Linked DNA regions of Homo sapiens: regions 1, 2 and 4 are each linked to region 3. Evidence: promoter capture Hi-C in 16 types of primary human blood cells and fetal thymus (Javierre and others, 2016). All regions are on one chromosome and are shown on one strand. Each heading gives the region's core, a stretch centred on a gene start or on the middle of the fragment in contact. The rest is flanking DNA. Distances are from core to core; before and after follow the strand shown.

Evidence for each region. Contacts are between HindIII fragments. The CHiCAGO score rates a contact against its expected background, and 5 or more counts as called.
Region 1: a fragment that was not itself captured here is called in contact with the fragment with the promoter of LRRC30 in region 3 in 3 of 17 cell types (M2 macrophages, M1 macrophages and M0 macrophages); the score reaches 8.1 in M2 macrophages.
Region 2: a fragment that was not itself captured here is called in contact with the fragment with the promoter of LRRC30 in region 3 in 5 of 17 cell types (M0 macrophages, M1 macrophages, fetal thymus and 2 more); the score reaches 9.3 in M0 macrophages.
Region 4: a contact is called between a fragment that was not itself captured here and the fragment with the promoter of LRRC30 in region 3, in 1 of 17 cell types (fetal thymus). The highest score is 5.8, in fetal thymus.

The regions. Positions count from the first base shown.
Region 1 is chr18:8,380,048-8,383,619 of GRCh38, reverse strand. It overlaps PTPRM (protein tyrosine phosphatase receptor type M), which reads right to left. Exons shown (of 33, transcript NM_001105244.2): 29 at 3,193-3,324. Among named protein-coding and RNA genes, the nearest start is that of RAB12, 230 kb to the left of the region's middle. The HindIII fragment of the contact is 618 bases long and covers 1,300-1,917 here.
Region 2 is chr18:8,400,043-8,403,631 of GRCh38, reverse strand. All of the region lies in intron 32 of PTPRM (protein tyrosine phosphatase receptor type M), which reads right to left. LOC124904241 (a long non-coding RNA gene) reads right to left here. Exons shown (of 2, transcript XR_007066275.1): 2 at 35-3,589. Among named protein-coding and RNA genes, the nearest start is that of RAB12, 210 kb to the left of the region's middle. RefSeq lists an enhancer at 1,878-2,408. The HindIII fragment of the contact is 3,533 bases long and covers 333-3,589 here.
Region 3 is chr18:7,229,661-7,233,049 of GRCh38, reverse strand. It overlaps LRRC30 (leucine rich repeat containing 30), which reads right to left and starts at 1,961. Exons shown (of 1, transcript NM_001105581.3): 1 at 1,006-1,961. The coding sequence starts at 1,911. The coding sequence ends at 1,006. The HindIII fragment of the contact is 6,496 bases long and covers 1-3,389 here.
Region 4 is chr18:8,434,267-8,437,423 of GRCh38, reverse strand. No RefSeq gene overlaps it. Among named protein-coding and RNA genes, the nearest start is that of RAB12, 170 kb to the left of the region's middle. The HindIII fragment of the contact is 4,363 bases long and covers 1-3,157 here.

The DNA of each region.
Region 1 (3,572 bases), core at 359-2,858, 1.2 Mb before region 3:
AACTCTAGGTATTGTTGATACTGAGTAACTAAAACATTTGCATGAATGTAAATGCACAACTCAGGGCAGTAGGAGTGGTGCTGGGCATGGTGGCTTATGAAGGTGCTTATTAGCCAGCACCCCACAAAATTCCTACCCTTGGAAATAGTCAGGAAGGAAGAACTGCTAAGATTTTTTTCTTCAAAAACCCTTCTCAAAGCCCCGAAACCTTAACAGGCATTTAAAGTTTGAAATTACTCTTCCTTTGGGACTTCTTATTCCTATAACTTTTTTTTGAGTAGCATCTACCTTTTTTTTTTTTTTTTTTTTTTTTTTTTTTTTTTGAGGCAGAAGCTCGTTCTGTCGCCAGGTTGGAGTGCAGTGGTGTGATCTCGGCTCACCACAAACTCCGCCCCCCGGGTTCAAGCGATTCTTTTGCCTTGGCCTCCTGAGTAGTAGGGACTACAGGCATGCGCCACCACGCCCGGCTAATTTTTGTATTTTTAGTGGAGAGGGGGTTTCACCATGTTGGCCAGGATGGTCTCGATCTCTTGACCTCATGATCCACCCGCCTCGGCCTCCCAAAGTGCTGGGATTACTGGTGTGAGCCACTGCGCCTGGCCGCATCTAACTTTTATCTTTCTGATTTAGCTGAGGGACAGGTGGCCTATGGAAAGGCAAGGGGAGAACTACTTTATTATACAACCTGTTTCTATCCTGGGCCAAGAGCAGAGGAAGACAATCACCTAATTTTATGCAGAATGATGTGTCAGGAAAGGAGGATCCACTGGCTGAATTTCTAGATGACTTCTGTTTTCCAAAGGATCTAAAATCTCATTGTCAAAGGTTGCTAAGGTTGATTTATACCCAAGATTGCAGGATAGTTTTCAGTTAGCAGTGGGCCAATCAAAACAGCAGTATCTCTCTCTCCATCACAGAACAGTTAAGGTTGGGATTTTATAAGTAAGAATGAAAGTAGGGTAACCAAGGGTGCCTTTTATGTTAGCTATGCTGACAGTATTTTAAAAATTACATTTATTTATTTTTAAATAATGCTTCCGTGAAATATTTCCTTCCTCACCAGCACTTCCTGGTGACAAGTTATAAAACTGCCTTGTCAAATAATAGCATGTGATGTTTATGTTCTTTTTGATGCCCAAAGTGTACCCACTGTTGAAATTAATAGGCATTATGATGGGAAGCCGAGATGTTAATAAAAGCTGTAACATGTACATCTGAACCGTTCTGCCCATTTTTCTACTGCCTGAGCTTACTCTGCTTTCTGCTTGCTTTCTCAGTTCAAGCTCCTGACCAAAAGCTTGCCACTTACACCAAAGAAATATGAGTGACGTGGGTTGCACTTGCCTCTTGGCACATTGCATTCTATGCTCTGCCCAAGTAAACCATGTAGAAAATGGCTTAAATGGTGCATAACACGTCCGTGAACCGGACCTATAAATACTTAAAATAGTTGAGTGCTATTCTTGTAGAATTGCAAAGCCTTTACATTCAAATGCTCAGTTTAGTGTTCGCTAAAAGACTGAATCCCAGGAGCCTCTTTTCTCTCACTCTGAAAATCAGCTCTGTCTGCTGAATAGAACTGGAGTCTTTTTGTCTCTCCTACCCATGAGCCAGCCAAGGCTTGGTTTGAGTCCAGATAGTTCGGGTTTAGAATGCGGCTTTAGAATTCCAATGCAGTTTTTCAAAAAGAATGCACTAGAATCACTGATGTCTTGTTCACTAATATGAACAAAAATATCTCCACATTTCAGGATTCACATTAAGAAAAAAACCATCATGATTCTAAATAAGGAAGAAGTCCCTTATTCTATAAGTGTCTGCAACTTAAGACTCTAGAATTAGTGAAATTTCGGCCGTGCCACTGTAAGTGAGAAAATCAGGACCCTTGGTTCTATTTTGAGTTGGGTCTTTGAAGCTTCACAAGCCGTGGTGTCTGCTTGTCTTTATAAATGACTGTAAGCTAACCTTCTCAGAGCATCAGTGGGGAAGAGTTTTAAAATATTTAAGCTTCTTAAGCCAAAAGGACTGGATAAGAACAAAGATTATCATTACTATTTCATTAACCAGCTTTCAGGCAAGAGCTTTGACAATATAATGCAGTGCCTCAGACATAATTAAAAACCTTATAGAACTGAATTGAATGTCCATGCCATTTATGGCTGGATGATGGCAAGAAAACAGATTGTAGGAAGGAAAAATCTTGCCATCATGTCCAGTTGGGATGCCGAAATGCTTCAGACTTTTTTTTTTTTTTTTTTTAAGAAAAAGAATTTGTGTCTACTGGACAGGAAATTAATTCATTTCCAGAACAAGTTTTTTCTTAAAACACGCTAAGGTCAAACTTCCCATAATGCCTACTGTCATGGTGGTTGTCTATGATTGGTATAGGCACATCCCAAAGCAATAAATTCATCTCCTAAAGGACCACTGTGCTAATGCTTGCCTGACAACCTGCTTCAAGAAAATGTGTCTAACTCCATTACTAACATTGAGTCATCACTGTCCAATTCTTTCTCTTTAATGTTTAAGAGTAACTATGCAAAAGCCCCATTTATCATTCCAAACTTCTCTTATCTCCAAGTCCCAGTATTATTTCTTTTTAATATCTTTACTAAAGCATTGAGAAAACTAATTGCTGTGCCTTAAAATTGCTTGCCTGTCTCTGCTGTCACCCCGACACTGTCACCCTGCATGACAATCTCTACCTGCCCTGCATGACGATCTCTACCTGTAGGCTCCCGGTGAGCTGTGCCAGGAAGCACACAGTCACTCCAGGAATGGGATCTGGGCTGGGTCAAACGCTATCTTCCCTTCTCCACTGTCCTCTGGTTTGCTCATTCTGCTTTGGCTCTGCGATGTTCAGGTTCCTGCTGAGCTCCAACTCGGTCTGCGACCTTGTCAACCTCCAGTGAGTATTTCCATCTTTTAGGAACAGCTCAACTTCTGGCCGTGTCTTGCCCTGTCACCTCAACCATCTATGATTTCAGCCTGTATTTCTGGTTTCAACTGACTTTCTAACCCCTAATTCCGCCTGATTTTTAACCGTTGTGTTCAGCATCCCCAGTTCTCAACTTCAACTGGCACTTGAGATCTGGCACTAGGGCCTGCACTTCTCGGGTGCAAACAAACTCAGTGTAAAAACAAACTTGACCCCCTGGCACTAGTTCTGACTGTAAGAAGTCCGGGTCTCACCTGGGCAGGATCCACATCATTTAGCATAACTACGGATGTGCAGTGATAATCCAGGACCAGTCTCCAAAAGTCTTTCACTGTGTTTGGCAAAGGATGCTGGGTGACTATAAAAGCTGAAGGCTGTTTATAGCTCTGCAAACACAAACAAGAATGCTCCAAATATACTCAGGAAAATGGGAAGAGAAGAAGCTAGGTTATTTCATGCAGAAGGAAGCTTGTGGCACAAAACACTGAACATGTTTAACAGCTGTTGAATTCTGTCACCATTGTCAGCACCAACATAGACTAAATATAAACTTCTCTGCAGAATAATAGTGATAAAAGTCTTACTTTGATACCAAGAAAACTTAATTAGTATCTCTTATCAATTTTTAAAATAT
Region 2 (3,589 bases), core at 850-3,349, 1.2 Mb before region 3:
CTGTGAATACACTGAAAACCAGTGAATGACACACTTTAAAAGGGGATTTTTTTTTATTTGGGGTACATGTGCTTGTTTATTACATGGGTATTACACATGTAATGGTGGGGATTGGGCTCCTAGGGTATTCATCCCCCAAATGAATGTTCATAGTGCATTACACGGCTGGTAGGAATGCAAAACACTGGAAACTGATTACAATCGAATGTTATACCCAACAGGTAATTTTTCAACCCTCCCTCTCCTCCCTGCTCTTTTGGAGTTCCCAGTGTCTATTATTTCCATCTAAAAGGGGAAATGTTATGGCATGCAAATTATATTCCAATAAAGCTTTATTAAACAAATCGCTAGTAGAAAAATGCTTATTCCATGATGTGAATCCTACCTTTAATGTCTGTGAAGGACTCAGGTGGAACTGCAACTGGGTGGACTCTGACATAGGAAACATGAATCCAGTTGTTCTTTGCTTTCTAGACTCATGGGTCTGAGTGCCCCACACTGACCAGGAGCCTGAGGTCCTATTAACCATCCCCGACATCTTGGCCAATCCATTCCCCTCTGGTCATAAAACAGGGGGTTGGATCATATTTAAGTTTCCCTTCCAGCTTTCTCAATTTAGAACTTTTGGACTTGGTTTGCCTTTAAAGTAAGTCTGATGACATTTGAGAAGGTGTTCCTTAAATTATCTCCTAGTGCAAATAACAAATATTTTACTAGCCTGTATTTCCCTTAAATAGACCACTTTTTCCACACACAATGCCAATAAAGGTAGAAGTATTTTTTTAACTTTTTAACTGGAAAAAATTATTTCTTGCCCTGGGCAAAATTAGATTTCTGATTCATATTCTAGTATTTATTATTTCAGGATTTGATACTTTTATTTTCAGAATATTTAAAAGAGATAATTGGAATTTCAAAATTCCAAAAGGCCACGTTGTCAGATCACCAGGCCGACATCTTGGCTGTGAAGTGCTCCCATCATGCTTTTGTGAATCACAGGGACAATTCTTTCTGTAATGGAAATCTACACGGTCCCATCCCTTACTGCATAAAAAAGATTTTATACAAGCCTAATTGTGCAATTAATTTCAGTGGCTACTCAGAGCCATCCTTTTAACATATTTCCTTTTAACATGTTAAAATGCACCTAGTGGAGAGATGTGGCTGCTGCCCTCAGGCCACAACACAGGCCGGAAACTCAGGAGGGATTTTGGGCTTCGCTGCTAAGGAGCTGCTGCTTGGAAGTCACCGAAGCTGCCCTGTCTCAGGCATGACTATAATTTTCAAAATGAATTCTCCCTCTCCCACCTTATCCTTCCTGAGCAAGCACCCAGTCCCCATAGATTCTGTGATGACTGGTTTCTGAATCAGAAAAATAAGGGGAAAGAGAAGGAAGACCACAAATTGTTGTGTCCCCTCCCCCAAGCACCTGGGTAAATGCCTGAAATCTTCCTACATTGGAAACTGATTACATTTGATTACCAGGTATAGGTCTATCTGCTGCAGTTTCCTCTCTCAGCTCACTCCCTTTTGAACAGTATAATTAAGCCACATGAGCCATCCCTGTGCTCCAGGGGAAAAAGGAATGTTTAGGCCTTGGTCCTGAGTGCTCCAATTTGGGTGACATTAGCTGGCTTCGGGCATGAGGAGGTGCCCTGAGTAGGGGCTCAGGTGGGAGCCTGGCCCGGTCCTCCTCACATCCTTGGGTCAGACCGTAACCAGGGCAACCTGCTGCTATTCCTCACCAAGGTCCCTGACGCTGGCCCCGCTCCCGATCAGACTTCCTGTACCTATGAGTGGGAGAAAGCAAAATGTGCAAGGGAACTGGAAATTGAGGTTGGCTGTTAAAAGCCACTGCTAGCTTGGTGAGGGCGTCACGAGGCCAGCACACCAGCGGGCGGCACTGGGGGCCTCCGTCAGGGGCCCGAGCCTTGTCGTCTGCGCAGGCTGCCTGTGTCTAAGGAACTCAGGCTGGCGGCCAGCGTGGGCACTTCAAACACCACATCAACGGCCTCCAAAGGTTCAAAGAGAATAGCCTCCACCTCTGACCTGGTTGCTTTTGAAACTAAGGCAAGCTCTATGATTTTGGCTAGACCCTGAACGGACAGATCCTTCGGGCTGGAAAAATTCTTCTGAGTGATGCCCTGCCAGAAGGGCAGCGTGGGCCCTATTACCGTGGTGGGATCCCTCAGTTCAGTGTTCCCAGCCAGGTTGTGGCCAGCCACTCTGTGCCAAGGAGACCAATAAATTCTCATCCCTGCTCAGCGAGACAGCAGCATGTCCCTGGAATGATGAGTGGCTCATTCCCTTAATCTCTATCTTTAATACCTATAGGTAGAACTTTCTTCACCAAAGCCCCCTGCAAAATCCATGCCCAGTTCCTTATTGAGGCCCTGCTGAGCACAGCCACAACCTCCCCTAGGTTGGAGAGGGCAGCAAAGGGTGGCTCAGGTTGGACTCAGGTCTGGCTGCAGAGAAGAATGGTTCAGTCACTCAGAAAATGCTTACTGGGAAACTCCTGGGAGCCAGGCGCTTGGCTGGTGCTGAGTGTAGGGGGCAGGATGGGCAAGTGGAATCTGGGGGTGGGGAGAGGGGATGGGGTATTAGCAAAAATTATTACAAACCTTCCTCAACAGTGCAGGAAGACTGACCATGGGTGGATTCAAGGTGCCTGGAGTGTGGATTGGGGACCCTAGCTCACCTCTGATTCCCACCCAACTCCTGCACTCACCACCCCAACACATGCACACACACATGCACAGCCGTTAAATAGGCTGCAAATTTCACAGCAAGAGCTATTGAGGGACAGCCTATACACACCAGTTGGTGGCACAAGGGGGAGAGCTGTAGGCCCCACACCACATTGCATTTTGTATGTGAGTCCATTGTTGGCTTACTAAAGGGGAGGTGAGGCTGAGTCTGGAGGGTCGGCTGTAAGTTACAGAGGGGGCAACCTGAACCTGTGCGGCAGATCCGCAGATCAGGATGGGGCCTGGCTCTGGAGTAAGTGGGACGGAGGGGGAGGGGGCGGCGAGCTGTGAACACCGCCGCATGGCACTGCAGGGAAGGGAGAGGCCCGCTGATCCTCCTACACCAACTTTCTCAGCCGTGTGGCACGTCTATCCTACCTGGCGGGGGCTCCATCTCAGAGCCTCTGGCTGAAGTGGGCTGGGGCAGGCCTGTGCACTGGTATTTCTGAAAGCTCCCCCGGGAGTTGGGGGTGGGCGGATTCTCAAGTGCAGCCTGGGCTGATACTGCGTCTAGAGCAGACATGGTTCTTAAGCTAGGCTGCACATGAGACTCACCAGGGGCTTTTAACACTCGGCTGCTGCAGCCAGGCCCCTGACCAATCGAATCAGTCTCCAGGTGGGCCCAGGGATCAGAATTGTTCTAAAGCTCCCAGATGACTTCAGTGGGCAACCAGGCTTGAGAACCACTGAGGAGATGCTCTTTTCTGAATCTTACAAGGCACGTGATGGTGGACGGGGCTGTTCCTGTTACACCTGGTCTGAGATGAAGCTCACACACACAGTGATTGAGCTCTGCCCTGTTCTCAGGTCCCCTACACTAACCTGTGCCCTTTTTCTCC
Region 3 (3,389 bases), core at 712-3,211:
TTTTAAATGTCACTAAACTCATTTTTTTTTTAACGTTAACATGGGAAAGTCAATATTACCCTCCTCCAAATTGTAAAAGGGTGATTACTTTTTTGCATGACTTGTCTATGTCTTTCCCCTCTTTTCTGCCTTTTGGTCATTGTTGGCCAAATTATCCCATTTAGTAGTTTATCTCTGAGAGGGCAGATGTAGTCATGGAGAAGTGAAATTAAAATGGGATCATTTGATGATTGCCTAGTGTCTAGCAAAGAAGTTCAAGGACATGACAATGAGTGGGACAGGACTGGGAAGGAAGGTTGAAATACACATTATATCAGTTCATATTTAATATCTGAAAGCCATCCTTCTACCCATTTACTCACCACCAGACATAAGCATGAGTGGCTTGGTTATTCCTCTGTAGCCGCATGAAAGAAAAATTTCCTATGATTGTCCCCCAGAACTCAAGGCGAAAACTCTGCCTCTTTTGGTCACTGGGGACAGAGCCCACTGTGGTTTGCCTTTTGGTCCCAAGTAATGTTTCACAGAGGCTGATGGAGGAACGTGTCTTGCCGTTGCCACCTGGCCACAGGTTGCTGATTCAAGGGCAGAAACTATCTGAAACCAGGTTTCAGCACCTCATACTGTACTTGGCACACAGTACTTAGCAAATATTTGCCTTTTGAATTACATTGAATTCAGACCTGTTAGGTGTCCACTCTCCCAAGGGCTGAATCTCACTGCTCCTCAGAAGAATCAGAACTGTTAGTTCTCTTTGGGGAAAACCAACCCCCTGTTTCAATTTATGTTTAGGATGAGATGAACATGATATTCCAGAGGTTATTAAGAACATACAGAGTTAAAAACAATCACCTCCTTAACGTGGATGTTCAACAGCGACTTAGCAAATATTAACAAAGGTATTGTCAGACACTAAGGATGAGAGTAGAAAGCTGAGACGAGAGAAGTACCCCGGTTGACAGAGTCCAGATGAGCTGCCTCCCATCCAGGCCTCCGGGACCCAGGTCAGGTGTGTTTTTTGTCCTTCAGGTAGCCGAAGAGCATCTCCAGGCCCCCCTCCACCAGCTCCGGCAGAGGCTTGGATAAAGGGTTGTGGGAAATGTGGAGCCCTTTGTCCATGGGATTCCAGGCGATCCTCACCAGTCTACACAGCAGGTGGAGTTCGCTCGGGAGGGTCTGGATGTCATTGTTGTTGAGGTTCAGCAGCTCCAGGCTGGTGACCAGGCAAAGCGACCTCGGGAAGGAGTGGATGTTGTTGCCCTCTGCGATGAAGATCTGCAGGCTGGCCAGGTGCTGGATGCTCTCAGCGATGTTTTCCAGGCGATTCGAGCCCACGTGCAAGAAAATCAGTTCCTTCAGGGAGAACACACACATGGGGATGTGCGCGAAGAAGTTGTTGCTGAGGTTTAGCTTCCTCAGTCTAGAGAGGTCGGCGAAGCATGCAGGGAGCTGGGACAGGCAGTTGTGCGACAAGCTCAGGACCTCCAGCTTTCGGCACAAGCTCAGCTCGGCCGGCACCTCTGTCAGGCAGTTCATGTTGACAAACAGGACCTTGAGGCACTGTAGGAGGCTCACTTCTCTGGGCAGGCTCTTCAGGCGGTTCCCGCACAAGTTCAGGACCACGATCCGGGTCAGTTTCCCCACCTCGGGAGGGAGAACCCGGAGCTGGTTGTGAGACAGATTGAGTTTCTGGACCTCGGACAAGCCCCACAGAAAGTCGGGGATGTCTGTCATTCCTCTCGTGACCAGGCTGAAGCTGACGTGGTGCATGCCCCGCTTCAGCAGGGACCGCGGGTCCCTTCCCGAGAGCAGGGCATCGTCCCACGGAGAAAACTTCTGTCTCCTCCCCGTGAACAGCATCCTCTTGGGGCCCTTATCCTTGGAGCTGGCCCTTGACTGCCTGGCCCCCATTGTACCTTCCCTTCTAGTCACTCTCCTCTGCCACCTCCCAGGCAGGGACCGTGTCCTCTCAGCTGCTAAAAGCCAGGCTGTTGCAGGCAGGGAGTGTGCGTCAGGGTGAGAACCAACTTGTGACTAGGAGGTCCTAGTGTGGAGAAAGCTGCCAGGAGAGTCTTGATCAGGCCTTGCAGGTATCTGAGACAGGTCCCTGGGTGGCTGCAGGAGCTGTGCCTGTTCCCCAGGGTTTAGGTGTTTTCTTTCTTAGCAGCTGGGCTGTAATGATATACTTGTCCAGGAGGCTGCTAAACTGCTCAAATCCCTCTGAATGCCACAAGGCAGCTGTCACTGTCACTCTGCCTGAGTTTTATTGACTGGGTACATGCAAACAGGTCACAGGAAGGCTGCATATAACTTTACTCTCTCAGCTTTTCTTGGGTATCACAGTTGAGCAGGGTGATTAACAAGCCCATCTCTAAAAAGAAGTAAAATGGAAAAACAGAGCAGGCCACACAAGTACGGACTGTTGGCAGGATTGCGGGAGCTCAGCCAGACAACTTTACAGTGAAACTGGGCTGGGTGCTAGTGACAGTTATGTCTCCAAAGCTAAAGATCATCAGATGATATCATAGGTCCCTGTTCCAAACCTTGATGAACTGTGCGTTTGTGAAAAGATAACAAAAGCAGCCCGGATACCTGGAATCTTCCAGGTCAAAGGTTTTTATCCTGTGCTTGTCAGAGGTGATTTAGTGAGAAGGGAGTTGTGGGGGGATCTCAACCCCTCACTCCCATTTCATCCAGAGAAGCTCTGGGCTCATGTGTCTTACAGAGACCTTCTGTATTTAGTAGGATGCACTTTAAGTGTTTGAACAGTCACTTGAGTGGCCACCTTAGTATGGTAAGCGCGGGCCACCTATTGTCCTGGAAGGATATGATGAGGCCCCCCTCGCTACACACCGTTCTCTTTCTCTCTCTCTCTCTTCTCCTCCCTGTCTTTTATTTATTTTTATTTATTTATTTATTTATTTTTCTTTTATTTTTGATGGAGTTTTTGCTCTTGTCGTCCAAGCTGGAGTGCAGTGGCACGATCTCGGCTCACTGGAACCTCTGCCTCCCGGGTTCAAGTGATTCTCCTGCTTCAGCCTCCCAAGCAGCTGGGATTACAGGCACCCACCACCATATCCAGCTAATTTTTGTATTTTTAGTAGAGACGGGGTTTCACCATGTTTGCCAGGATGGTCTTGACCTCCTGATCAAGGCGGGTGGACCTGCCTCGGCCTCCCTGTCTTTTTCTTGAATTAAAAAAGTTAACTTACATCTTAAGTTTGCAGAGTTAATTGTTGGTGTTATGGGCTGAACTGTGTCCCCTCACCCTGCCCTCAAATTTCGTATGCTGAAATTGTAACCCCCAGTATCTCAGAAGGCGCTGGGTTTGGCAATCAGGCCAAGTGAAGACACAGGGAGAAGGCAGCCACCTGCGAGCCAAGGAGAGA
Region 4 (3,157 bases), core at 544-3,043, 1.2 Mb before region 3:
TAGATTGGGGGGTCTGAGCACCCCAAGTTGAGGGAAACAGAAAATTCCGCAGAGGCTAAGATTCCCTGCTGGGAGAGGGTGGAGGGAATTCCGGAGGGAGGAATAGAAAGTGGGATATCAGGACACACTGCTAAGGTGGAGAGAAACCCCGTGTCACCATCTCATTGATGATTAATGAGAGCCACACCCTCATCAAGAAAGAAGACACAGGGAGGTGGCAGCCAGAATGAAGAGGGGGCTCAGGCCAGCAGCGGTGCTTCCCAGGCACAGAGTGGGTCCCTGGGTCACCCTTTGGGTGTGAGGGGCCATGAGAAAATATTTTGCTGGGAGTCGTGTCTGTATGACTAGTATGATTAAAATGTATTTAAAAATTCGTGGGTCCGTGTGAGGTCTAGTGGTTGGCTAATGAAGATCTGGGATGATGAGAGAAGGCCTACTTACCTATGTATTTATTGTCATCAGCACACAAGAAAGTTCTCCGAGGTGTCCAGGCAGCATCTCTCCATGTTCTTTATTGTCAAGTGCGCCATTGCTGGCTAAGCTCATATCTCCATGAGACAAAAGCAGTAACACTGTCATCACTCACCACATGGTGGCCTTGGAACCTGTTTGTACTGAAACAATGTAGACCTGGGACTGTTAATGGGAGGCTGTGGCTGCATCATCACTCCTGAGGCTGCTGCATCCAGGCACTGCCCTTGTGGTAAGGGTTGAATTGTGTCTCCCCAAAAATGTCACCTTATTTGGAGATAGGGTCTCTACTAAGCTAAAATGAAGCCATTGGGTGGCCCCTAATCCAGTATGACTAGTGTCCACATAAAAGGGGAAATTTGGACACAGACTCGCATGTAAGGAGAACATCAGTTGAATGCAAAGATGTTGCCCTTAGCTCGGCCTTGGGTAAGCTAAGCTCTGTGACCTCAGGTAAGTCACTCATTCTCCCTGAACTTCAGTTCCCAATCAAGGAAAAATCAAGAGGAATAACCTTACCATTTAGTGTAGGGGGCTGAGAGTGCACTGCCTGAGTCTGAATTCTGCCGTCACCTGCTGTCGATGACATGCTGGCATGCTACCTAGCCTTTCTGTGTCTCGGTTTCCTCATCTATAAGGATAGAATAACAATAGTACCTAGGTATATGGTTCGTGAGGACTCAATAGTGAAGGCAAGCGAAGAATCAGACACGTAGCACACAGCAAGCACACACTCAAAAGGTGTCTGTGACTGTTATTGTTATGTGGGGTGGCGTGTGGGATTCCAGGTGCTCTGCAGGCAAGCACTCAACACGGTGCCTGGCACGTGGCAGGCAGGCAAAGGTGGGCCTGGAAGGGCCTCTCGCCCACCCCTCTTGTCTAAAACGGTCCACCTCTAAGGGAGGTTGGAGGGGGAGACCAGGCTCTTGAAGTGAGCTTCCCAGGGAAGGTCATCAGAAGTCAAAAAGACAAATCAAGTGAGAGAAAAGTAATCAAGTGAGAGAAAAGTAACCAAGTGAGCAAAAGAAAAGAAATCAATGTCAGAAATGGCAACAAGGACAGAAAAGCATCTACGATGTATCAGATGAGTGGATGGAATGAGAAAAGACAGGAGATGAGGAAGGGAAGAATAAAGAGACGGGAAACCCAGACAGCTGTGAGCAAGGGCCCTGGAAAAGGGAGGACAGGTGTGCAGCGTCGTGCCGCTTGCCGCCTGCTGACTGAGGACATCTGCACACCGGGTTTGCATCTTCTGTCCTGCCTGGTGAAACAGGAGGAGTTTGGGCATGTGATGAAGGCGTGGCTCACTTCTTCCATGTCCCGCAGCTCGAACCCCTAGAGGGGGCATGCAGACAGGCAGGTCGTGGGGAGCATGGGCTCTGACCCTATGGCAGCGTCTAGGGTTGAGTGTTTACAGCTCCCGAAGCCCCAGTGGGCGTGTGTTACAGTGCACTTTTTCAGCTTAGCGGTTCACAGGTGGCTTGTGTTAATCAGCTCAGTTAGACCCTCTGCCTTATCACAAGGAGAGAGGGCTTTCTGTATCCTGGGGTTCTTGCCTTAGCGTACCAGAAAATCAGATGACACATGGGCTTGGAGAGTGAGTGCAAGGTTTTATTGAGTGGTGGAAGTAGCCCTCAGCAGATGGATGGGAGCCAGAAGGGAGATGGAGTGGGAAGGTGGTTTTCCCCTGGATTCAGGCCATTCAGCAGCCAGACTCTCCTCCGACATTCCCCGGCCGAATTCCACGCCATCCGCATGGTTCTGCTGTCAATGGCTTGCTGGAGTCTGCCAGTGTGTTCTTCTGTCGGTGTGTTCCTCTCAACGTCCAGCCGCTCATGTGTGTGCCCGCTAGGGTCTTGGGGTTTTACAGGCACAAGTTGGGGGGCATGGTGTGTCAGGGTGGTCTTGGAAAATGCAACATTTGGGCATGAAAACAGAAGTACCTGTCCACACCTAGGTCCATGGGCACAGGCCAGAGGGTGGAGCCTTCATCAGGGACCCCGCCTTTCTCTACCTAGCACTTCCCTGCCCCGCTCCCATATCACTGGGAGCTTCCATCAAGCCCCCTGCCCTGGTGACCTCCCGAGGCAGGGGACAGGTGAGCCAGAAATTGGCACTTCAGAGAGAACCTGTAAGGTGGGTCTGGGCTCAGCTGTACCAGGAGGAGACGAAAATGCTTATCTGCACCTGCACCTCGGGAAATCAAGGCTCTCTTTTTCCAGGAGTCACATTAGGGAGGAGCCAGCTGGATGCAGGGGTTGGCATTGCTCCTGACGCCCAGGCTCTCCCCTGAAGGAGAAGCATAGTCCTGCTTCCACCTTTCTCGTATGTCATTTAGGGTATAATAATATGAGCAGGTACATAATGCCAGGCAGGGCTCTAAACGCTTCACACAAATTAATCCATTTAAGTCCCTCCACAACCCTATGAAGTAGATGATGCTCATCTCCTTCAGCAGAGGGGAAACAGAGGCTCAGGGAGGGAGCTACCTGGCTGAGGTCGCTCAGTCAGCGGCAGAGCTAGAATTCAAACCTGGTCACTGGCTCTGCGCCCCTGCGTACCATGGCAATCCTCCCTCAGGGGCACGGCCCTTTAGCTTTATTATTGCTGTTTTTAAAAAATTGTATTAGCAGTTCATTTATTTTACACCACAATAAATTGCTACTATTTGATGGGCAGGGAAAAC